Regions from separate parts of the Homo sapiens genome. Here all the other regions are linked to region 1. The links are contacts of gene promoters, found by promoter capture Hi-C in blood cells and fetal thymus (Javierre and others, 2016). All regions are on one chromosome and are shown on one strand. The core of a region is centred on a gene start or on the middle of the fragment in contact, and the rest is flanking DNA. Distances in the headings are between cores, read along the strand shown. Region 1 holds the start of PHF24 (PHD finger protein 24). Region 2 holds the start of SPATA31F1 (SPATA31 subfamily F member 1). Region 3 has its middle 16 kb from the start of SPATA31F1.

The links. Contacts are between HindIII fragments. The CHiCAGO score rates a contact against its expected background, and 5 or more counts as called.
Region 2: the fragment with the promoter of SPATA31F1 here is called in contact with the fragment with the promoter of PHF24 in region 1 in 4 of 17 cell types (erythroblasts, endothelial precursors, M2 macrophages and 1 more); the score reaches 6.6 in erythroblasts.
Region 3: a fragment that was not itself captured here is called in contact with the fragment with the promoter of PHF24 in region 1 in 1 of 17 cell types (endothelial precursors); the score reaches 5.6 in endothelial precursors.

Annotation. Positions count from the first base shown.
Region 1 is chr9:34,956,722-34,959,681 of GRCh38, forward strand. PHF24 (PHD finger protein 24) reads left to right here and starts at 1,564. Exons shown (of 8, transcript NM_015297.3): 1 at 1,564-1,680. RefSeq lists an enhancer at 123-262 and a silencer at 1,612-1,691. The HindIII fragment of the contact is 16,428 bases long and covers 1-2,960 here.
Region 2 is chr9:34,727,893-34,730,852 of GRCh38, forward strand. It overlaps SPATA31F1 (SPATA31 subfamily F member 1), which reads right to left and starts at 1,596. Exons shown (of 4, transcript NM_001141917.2): 1 at 1,392-1,596; 2 at 717-762; 3 at 130-190. The coding sequence starts at 1,535. It also overlaps a transcript of PHF24 not described here. The HindIII fragment of the contact is 7,130 bases long and covers 1-2,148 here.
Region 3 is chr9:34,744,139-34,747,098 of GRCh38, forward strand. It overlaps a transcript of PHF24 not described here. Among named protein-coding and RNA genes, the nearest start is that of SPATA31F1, 16 kb to the left of the region's middle. The HindIII fragment of the contact is 712 bases long and covers 1,151-1,862 here.

The DNA of each region.
Region 1 (2,960 bases), core at 314-2,813:
AAGAAAGTTAGGGGGGGACCCCCAGACTATATGGAAGGCTCAGTCTGCTTTTTAGTGCTAGTTTCACAACAAGCAAAATAACCATAGTGTCTCTTGAGAAATAAGCACTAATTTTAGAACTAATAAGTACTAATTTTAGAACTCCATATATTAATGGTTTATAGCCTCTCCTTTCTCAGTGGCAGGACTGAGAAATAGGAGCTTGCGGTATGAAATCAGAATACCTGAATTTCAGTCTCACCTCCATCACATATTAGCCATGTGACCTTGGGCGAGTTGTTTAACCTCTCTTTGCCTCAGTTTCATCACTGGCAAAATGTCGAAACTAACAGTAGACTCCCTCAAAGGGATGGTGTGAAAATTAATGACAACATATTTAAACCATTTAGAATAGTACCTGGCACTTCGTGTTTTAAAGTGATAGAAATATACCATACTTGCCTTATATCCTCTATTGGTAAATTCCATGTTAAGGGCAAAATTTCTTTTTTATATCGCACCAGGGTACCTAGCACAGTATGTAACAAATACTAGACGCTCAAAAAAATGACATGCATTATATTTGAGGTAAATAAATTGAATGCACAAGAAAATAAAGGTATTTTAAAAATGTAAGTGCAATTAATATAAATTAAAGGGCTCTCGACATATCATTTGCATATCTTCAATTTTTCCTTATAATTAGTTGCTGGCTATCTTACGATTTTATCTTTTTCTTGCCCTCTTCAAAGCATGTAGTTTGGTGTAATGCACATTATAGCCCTCAGAATTGCTGGCCTTCTGACAAGCTAGCTGTTTGGATATTGTGAGGGATGAGGTTGCTGCAGCAAAAAGTGGGTTACACGACAGCACAGCCTCGCTGCTGGAGATGAAAAACCAATAATCCCAGAAAACAGCGCATAGGGTAGGCTGGGCCAGCCGAGGATTATGTGAAGGTTCGTTGGGACCCTCCGGAGGCCAGTGGGGTACTGCAAAGGTGAGTGCCCCAGTGCCAGGGGTCGTGAGCCCGGAGCCCTGCGGGGGACGGCTGGTAGGCCCTGCTGGATGAGTCATTCTCCCCACCCCGGGCACGTGCTGGTGGCGGCATCCACCCGGACCCCGCCTTCCCCCCACCCAACCCCCGGCGCGGAACGCGAGCGGTGAGCGGCCCCAGCGCCCCCAAGGCGCCCCCTCCGGGCCGCCTCCTCCGGGCGGGCACTGTCCTTGCCGCAGTCGGCCGCTGGCGCAGTCCCCGCGCCGCAGTGCCGGGCGCTCGTGGGGGGCGCCCACGGGCACCTGGGCCGTCTGCTCATCGGAGCCGTCCGCCGTCCTCCCGCATTCCCACGGCGCCCCACGCCCGCGCGCCCGTCGCCGGTCACCCGCCGCCCGCGGAGCCGCGAGGGCGTCTCCTGGAGGCGCAAGAGGACTGGGCGGGGCGGGGCGCGCCCACCGGCCGGCCCAGGGCACCTCGCGCGGGTGCACACGCCGCAGCCCCCCGGGGCGGGTGGGTGTGCTCCGGCCGCGCGCGCCGCCGCCGCCGCCGCCGCCGCCGCCGCCTCCTCAGCCTGCCGCTCCGCCCGCGCCGCCTGCTGCCGGCGCTCGGCCCAGCACGCCGGCTCTCGGGCTGCCGTGGGCTGCGCGGGGCCCGCGGTGTGTAGAGTCCGCCGCCCCGGAGCCGCGTCCCGCACCCGGACGGTCCCGGTAAGCGGGGGCGGGGGCGGCGGGGACCGGGCCGTCACCTGAGGGGCGGGTCTGCGGCCGCGGACAGTCCTCCGGGACTCTGAGGTGCTTGTGTGGGAGCCGCCTCCAAGGTGGCCCCCCTGTGTCATTGGATGAACCCCAAGTAGCTGCTGCCTCTACGCCTTGGGGGAGTCCCTGAGGTGCTGTGGGGAGCCGCCCCCATAAAGACCCCCTGTGGGAATGGACTCCCGCGGCGCTGTCTGCATTTGCTGCCATAGGGAGCCCCAGCGTGGAGGGGACTGGCCCCAGAGAGCCCTTCTGTGTCACTGTGGGAGCAGGCACAAGGGTGGTCTCTGGAGCTGGCTCAATGGAAGACCACCTGGGAACATAGGGGAGCCGCAGGAACCTCGAGGTGGTGGAGCCCCCAGAGGGCTCCCTAGAAAAGGAGGACCTGAGACTGTGCCCTAGAACTGTGGGAAGCAACCTCTGACTGGGGAGGGGGATCCTCCCATGGGATCCATGAGTGACTTCCCACGGCTCCAAGGACTTTGGCCTCCACCGGGATCCCTGTAGGGTTCCATGTGCCCTTACTTGTATCCCCACACCGTGGCCCAGAGGTGGGGGCCTTCTAGGGCTGCAGCCTCTTTCCATTCCTCCTCTTTCCCCATTCGGATTTTTCTTCTCCATGGTAGCCCAGTTGCTCCACGCTGCATTTTAGTGGAGACAGAAACTGCTGCGAGAGCACAGGGCCCTAAGCCGAGGATGAGGACCAGTGAGGCCTCTAAAGCAAAGATAGGAGATTTGAGCCCCTAGGTTTGACCGTGCGGAAGGAAGCAGTAAGATCAGGTGGAATAACTGACTTTGGCAGGTCCTGGAGGGAAAGGCCTTTGAAGGAAGGAATAAAGGATGTATGGGATTGTTGAGCACCAGTACGCTAGGCAGTATACTAGGTATGTTTAAACATCTCATATAACTCTTACAACAGCTTTGTGAAATTATCCCCTTTTAAACATTGAGACTCAGAGAGGTTTAGCAATTTGCCCAAGGTCACAAAGCTGATGAAAAACATAATCATAAAATGTTTTTCAAATTTTATTTGGGAAAAAGTACTAAGGAGCAGCAGAAGAAAGAATAGATATTTGTTAATAAGTTGCATTAAGGTGCCTGCCGAGCATAGGGTTTTGCAGTGGTACAAGCTCAGTAAATGTGATGATTAAATAAGTGGATGAGGACAGTTTAACTGGCCATGAGATTGCTGCAGGAACTGATTTCCACAGAATCCCCAGATTTCAGGGTGTGGC
Region 2 (2,960 bases), core at 346-2,845, 230 kb before region 1:
GTCCCTGCTTCCACTGTGTATGTCTCCCTCCCAGCCATTATCTTTCTCCTTAGTCCTGCCCCAGGCCAAGCCAAGAAATCATCATAGGCCAGGCTGGTTGTTGATAGAGTGCAAAGAGCAATAGATCACCTTTTAATGATGGAGAGCAGCTTCTGTGGCTTCTCAGCTTCTTCCCGGGAACGTCTCCTAGCTGAGGAACGGGGAGACAGTGTTATATGGCATGGGATAATTTCATAGGCATCCTATAGGAAGCTGAATAGTAAGGCCTTTGACTCTCATCAAGAAAAGACTACAATCCTGAAAAGTCCGTACTCTAAGGCATGTCTGAGTACAGCATCGCTGTAACACAATGTCCCATATCTAATTTCATTTGATTTTTACAACCACAATGTGATTGAGGCAGGATTGTCAGTGTTTTGCTCATTTTGTGGATAAGAATGAGAGATGAAATGACTTCCACAGGGTCATAAAACTAGTAAGTTATACAATTAAGAACATCTGCTCTACTTTCTTAATTCTTCATTTCCAGGGCATTGAGGTACAGGATTTTGGAACATTCTCAAGTTATGATTTCCCACCCATGGAAATTTCAGTCTGGGGAACTGGAGTCTTCAGTGGCAGAGCACCTGGCTCTTGGCTCCAGAGGTCACAGAGGGACAGGATTCATGGGAAACACCCACAGTGGAAGGGAGTCAGAGGAGAGATTGGGACTTTACCTGTTGATGCTGCATCTCTAGCTCTTTGCCTGACTTTTTGGTGACACTTAGAAGACAAAAACATTAGAATGTGAAGCTGGGACACCATTTTCTTTCTCATGTCCAAAATGAGACAAAACTTACATACATTTTTCACTCGCTTTGTATATATCTATCTGTATTTTATACACTCTCCTGGACTTCCTTTGCCTATTCCACCTTTTTACCCCATTTTCCTTCTCTGCTTATTTTGGATTCACTTGGAGGCTTTTCCAAATTCTATACCTCCCATCTGATTCACAGAGAAGTCCTGCTGGATGCTGAGGATGACACAGGAGGAAAAGCAGAACAGACAAAAGGGTAAATGGTTCTAACAACCAAAGGACTTCTGCTTACAAAGCCCACCAACCGGAAAAATCCCCCATATTCAGAGAGCTTCCGAGATCCAGCAAGATAGACTTCATATTATCTAGTTCTCAATCCAAACCAAATAGAGAGGTTCTTGGCTTTTCAATCAGACTATGTTGCGGGAAGGGCCTGGTAAGGAATTATAGTCTCTGAGAAGAAAAGTATTACACAAAGGTAACTGAAAGTATGCTATAAAAATTCTGGGGTGGGGATTATAAGGGAGCACGGTAAGAACTTATAGGCTTCTTATCTGAGGCTTAATTAGTTCAGTTGGGATCACAGCCCTACCCGGCAGCAGCTCCTTTTAGGTTCTGAACTCAATTCATGGTGGCTCCTTTTCACTTGCCAGATAATTACAATAACGATGAAGATGGAGCCATAGATGTATAAGGGATATCCAACTTCCCACAGAACAAAAGTAGGGCTCAACATGGTCTAAACTTCATTAGCATGAGATCAACCATCCCTCTATCTCGGAATTCAGGGTTCTGGTGCCTAATGAATCCCAGTGCTAGGCCTTGTCATGTCCACCTCACAGAGGACGGAACTAGGCCACCAGACTGCATCACAAAGCCCTCCTGTTTCATAAGGTACATGTAGTAGGGAAGCTCATGTGGTGATTCAGTCTGTAGATGAGGGTGTTTTGAGCCTGGGACTGAAGGTGCCACAAGCAGTGTCTATTTCCTAGTCTGTCTTCACTTTCCACTCCCTATACCAGCCTGATGCCTCGGCTCTCTCCTTCACAACTGTATGGTCACCTGTCCTCAGAAAACTGAGTGCTTTGGCACAGGGGTCACCTCATAAGAAGGGGTAGATAGGCCGGAGGAACCTCCACTAACTCTCCCACTAGTTTTGGTAATATACCTGAGAAACACACATGAATTTAGGGAGGGCGGAGTCTGGTTATGGCTTGGAAATGGAGATCTTTGATGTTTTAGGCAATGGGTGATTGGTAACAGAGGTGCAGGAAGGGGACCATGGCTGATGTGGTAGGGTGGTAGGGAGAGGCCAAGGTGGTTGTACGTATCTGGTCTGTGTGGCCTCAAGCTTGCAGATGGGTTGGGACTGTAAATGCTACCTTCCATGGAGGCACATTCATGCTCAGGGAGATGAATGCCTGCAGAGATGGGTTAGTGGCCGCTTCTGACTGTGGGTCACAAGTGACTAGTTGCTGTTCATGGTTGGATGTATGCTGTTTGCCTGAGGATGTTTTTTTTGTTTGTTTGTTTATTTTTCTCAAATCTGTATTTTGTAAATTTTTAGGCAGGGCATGTGTTTTCCAATTCAGCTTCAGGACCCATTACTTCCATAGCCAGACTATTGATTTACCTGCCTAGCTTTTGTAGATATTGTGATATGCCACCAACACCTCAGTATTCCTGAATTTCCTTGAGAGAGTTCTGCTCTGGTAATGGTGGTCTCAGGCCAAGAAACCTTTGGGCTGAAAATCTCTGAAGAGGCTTTGGTCCTTCCTCAGTATCCAGCCCACCCAGCAGATGTGGTAAGCACCCAATATGTGCTCAGCCCTAAGCTGGGGAGTGTTGAGGATACAAAGACATTTGAGCCGCATTGGCTTTCTGCTTTCAAGATACTTAAAAATGTAGTTTCAAAGACAAGACTAATTCATACAAAGCAAGAGCCAACAATCACTACAAATAGACTTATATACTCATTCGTAAGGCTCTGGCCACAAACATTCCATTTCAGAGAAGAGAAATCATAGTGAGGATCATGGTCATCAGAGAGGGCTCCTGGGTAGTCGAAGTTAAGTTTAACAGTGCAGGTTGTGGGTAAAAGGACTCTTCCTGGTGGGAGAAAAACTTACCAGCTCATGCTGAATCTAGGGAATGGGCCATG
Region 3 (2,960 bases), core at 257-2,756, 210 kb before region 1:
AACCATAGCACCCTGTTTCTCCTGAGCAATTGTAATTCCAAGCTGGCAAAAGTACTCAAGATTAGGGGCTGAAGATAACGATGGACCATGGGTGGTGGTCAGTGGGGAACAAAGCTCAATTGGATATCATCAGTGGCTTCACTGGAGAATAAATAGGCTTGGAATTTTGAAGAACCAATAAACTGCTTATATGTAAGAGTGAGAAAGATGTAATGCACAAAAATCATAGAGCTGTAAGTTCAAATTTGGGGTAAAAACTATAACAAAATTGGCTTGCTTATGGCCAACTACAAAGTAGGTTGCAACCTGGCTCAGTGCTGCATACTCAGAAGGTTCCTAGTAATTGCTTTCTGATGAGGAGGTGAATCACCACAGAACAGTGGTTTTCAACCTTGTTCATTTGTCACTAAATATTGTGCCAAAATATTTTAATGTTTTACATGATGAAAGAATAAAGGCAACTTAAATTTATCTCTATAATATGCTACTTTTACTTTCATTCTGCAATGCTTTGCTGAGGGAGAGAAAGGGGTAGAGTTACAGCACATATGCTGGAAATTGTGCACTGGGTAACACTGGGCACTTGAATATCATTTCCCAAATGTGTCAGGGTGTAAAAAAGGTTGGGAGCTGCTGCTCTAAAGAATAGGTCTTGCCAAAATCAGGTAATCTTTAATACGGAAACATTCCAAGTGGATGGAGGTGGAGATATCACCTGTCATGACTTGGCAAGATTAAAAAAAAAAATCCAGGTCCATGACATACTCATTAATCATCTGCTCCACCAGCCAGACAGGTGTTGAACAGGAAGCCAGGGGTTAGTTACAGCTTGACAGGAATATTTTAGCACAGAATCAGAAGAGACAATATCATTTCCTAACTAGAAGGCTTGGGCGGAAGCTGCTATCCTTGCTGGGATGGATGCTAAAGGAGTGCAGGGGTGTACTGAGTACACAGGAGCAGAGGAGGGATTAGAGCAAGGAGCAGCCAGCTGGCAGACTATCCTCCATGACTCAGAGCAGAGAGGTCAGGAAGGAGCTGAAGTAGGCTGACTACTAAGTCCCCACAGCTGGAGTGTTGTTAATTCTGATCAGCCTCCTGATTCTTGCTGCTCCATACTGGCTTCTTGGATCCACAGCTATACTGGCCAAGCTTGGTGAGCCATGGTCAAGAGGACCAACAGAGTGGGCTACTCAATTTTCCATCCATCAATCAGCTTCATTTTATAGGCTAGCTGCTTCACTGGAGTGTGAGAAGTAGCTGTAGGTACTCTCGTAGGAGAATGAAAAAAGCGGTGGGGAAAGAATTTACTAGCTTTTCAAGAAGAAATGATATTTACAATAAGAGGTAGGTAGGTAAAATACTGACGGGAATGATGTTAAAGGAAAAAAACCAGCATGTGAAATTATTTGAGCACTAAGAGTATATAACCATGGAAAAATGTGTCCATGAGAAAAAAGACCAGAAATACCCCATACTGATAGCATTATTTATTATGGGGGGTAAAGTTGTGGGTATATTTTTCCATTTCCCATTCAGAATTCTGAAAATGGAAAAATATACCCACAACTTTACCCCCCTAACAAATAATGAAGATGCATTGTACTTCTATAGTTTAAAAAAACATTTCAAAAGTAAACAATTAGGGCACTTTCAATCCAATGATAGATTAAGTTGATTCAGACCATTTCTCCTGCCAAGAACAACTAGAAAATAGTGACAAAATATTTTTAAATAATGTTGAAAGGCATTGTAAAACCTCAACAAAAGTTTGATAAAACTATCAAAAATTACTTTAAAAACTTTGGTAAAACTACCAAAGCACTGAGGAATTATGGGGTCAAGATTCAAGTGAGAGGGAAAGCTTACTGAAGTGAGCCTGACATTTGGGGCTGTTCTTCCTCTTAAGGTCAATGACAAGGGCTAACAGGCCGAAAAACTGAGCAGAAAATTTGAAAGATTTATAGGTTAAAGGGAACAAAACTTGGAATTTGCTTGATAAGAAGGAGGGGTTCTGGTAAAAACCACAGGCTTTTGGTCAATCCTGAAGAGCTGTACCATAGCAGTAAGTATGAACTGGAAATAGATAAGCTGTCACAGGAATTGAATCTACTTTGAATCCTCTCAGTCTCTGATTGAACTATGGTGATCTGGAATTGCCAGTGCCTCTAGCTTAGCTACCAGCCATGAGATACCAAAGCCTGACAACTATAGTAAGAGAAAAGAAAAGTACAAGCTAGTTTCATTTATGAACATAGATATTAGCAACCTAAACAAAAGATTACCAAACTAAATCCACATATAAAATCAGCAATACACTATGAGTGAATTGGGTTTATTTCAGGAGTACAAAGCAAGTGCAAGATTGAAAGAGCAATCACTGCAATTCACATTAAGAGAATTAGGAATAAAAATTGTATGATAATATTGATGTAGAAAAATATTTTGATAATATTAAACATTCATTCATTAGGAAAACTTTTCTCAAACAAGGAATGGATGAAATCTGATAAAGAATACTAAGCAAACATTAAAAACTGTGAGTCAGTCTCCTTTCCTTGCTCAATAAAGCCAAAATTTTGGCAGCTTGGGAGGCATGCCCTGCTCCCAGAGACCTCAATTATGTAAATAATAAACCTTTTTATACCCTCTTATTGTGTGTGGCATCATCAGTCTTGATATTCAAATCAGATTTTGGGTGTGGGCCCATCCTGTTGCTTTAGGGTGGTCAAACAAATCATAAAGCTTCTAGAATATAACATAGAAGACTATCTTCATTACCTTGAGGTTAGGAAAAATTTCTTAAAAAGGACACAAAAAGCACTAATCATAAAGAAAGATTGACACATTGGACTACATTAAAATCAAGATCTTTTATTTATCAAAAGATGCCTTTAAGAGAGTATAAAGGTAAGTACAGAAGGGGAAAAATATATATACAAAATGTTTAGCCAACAAGG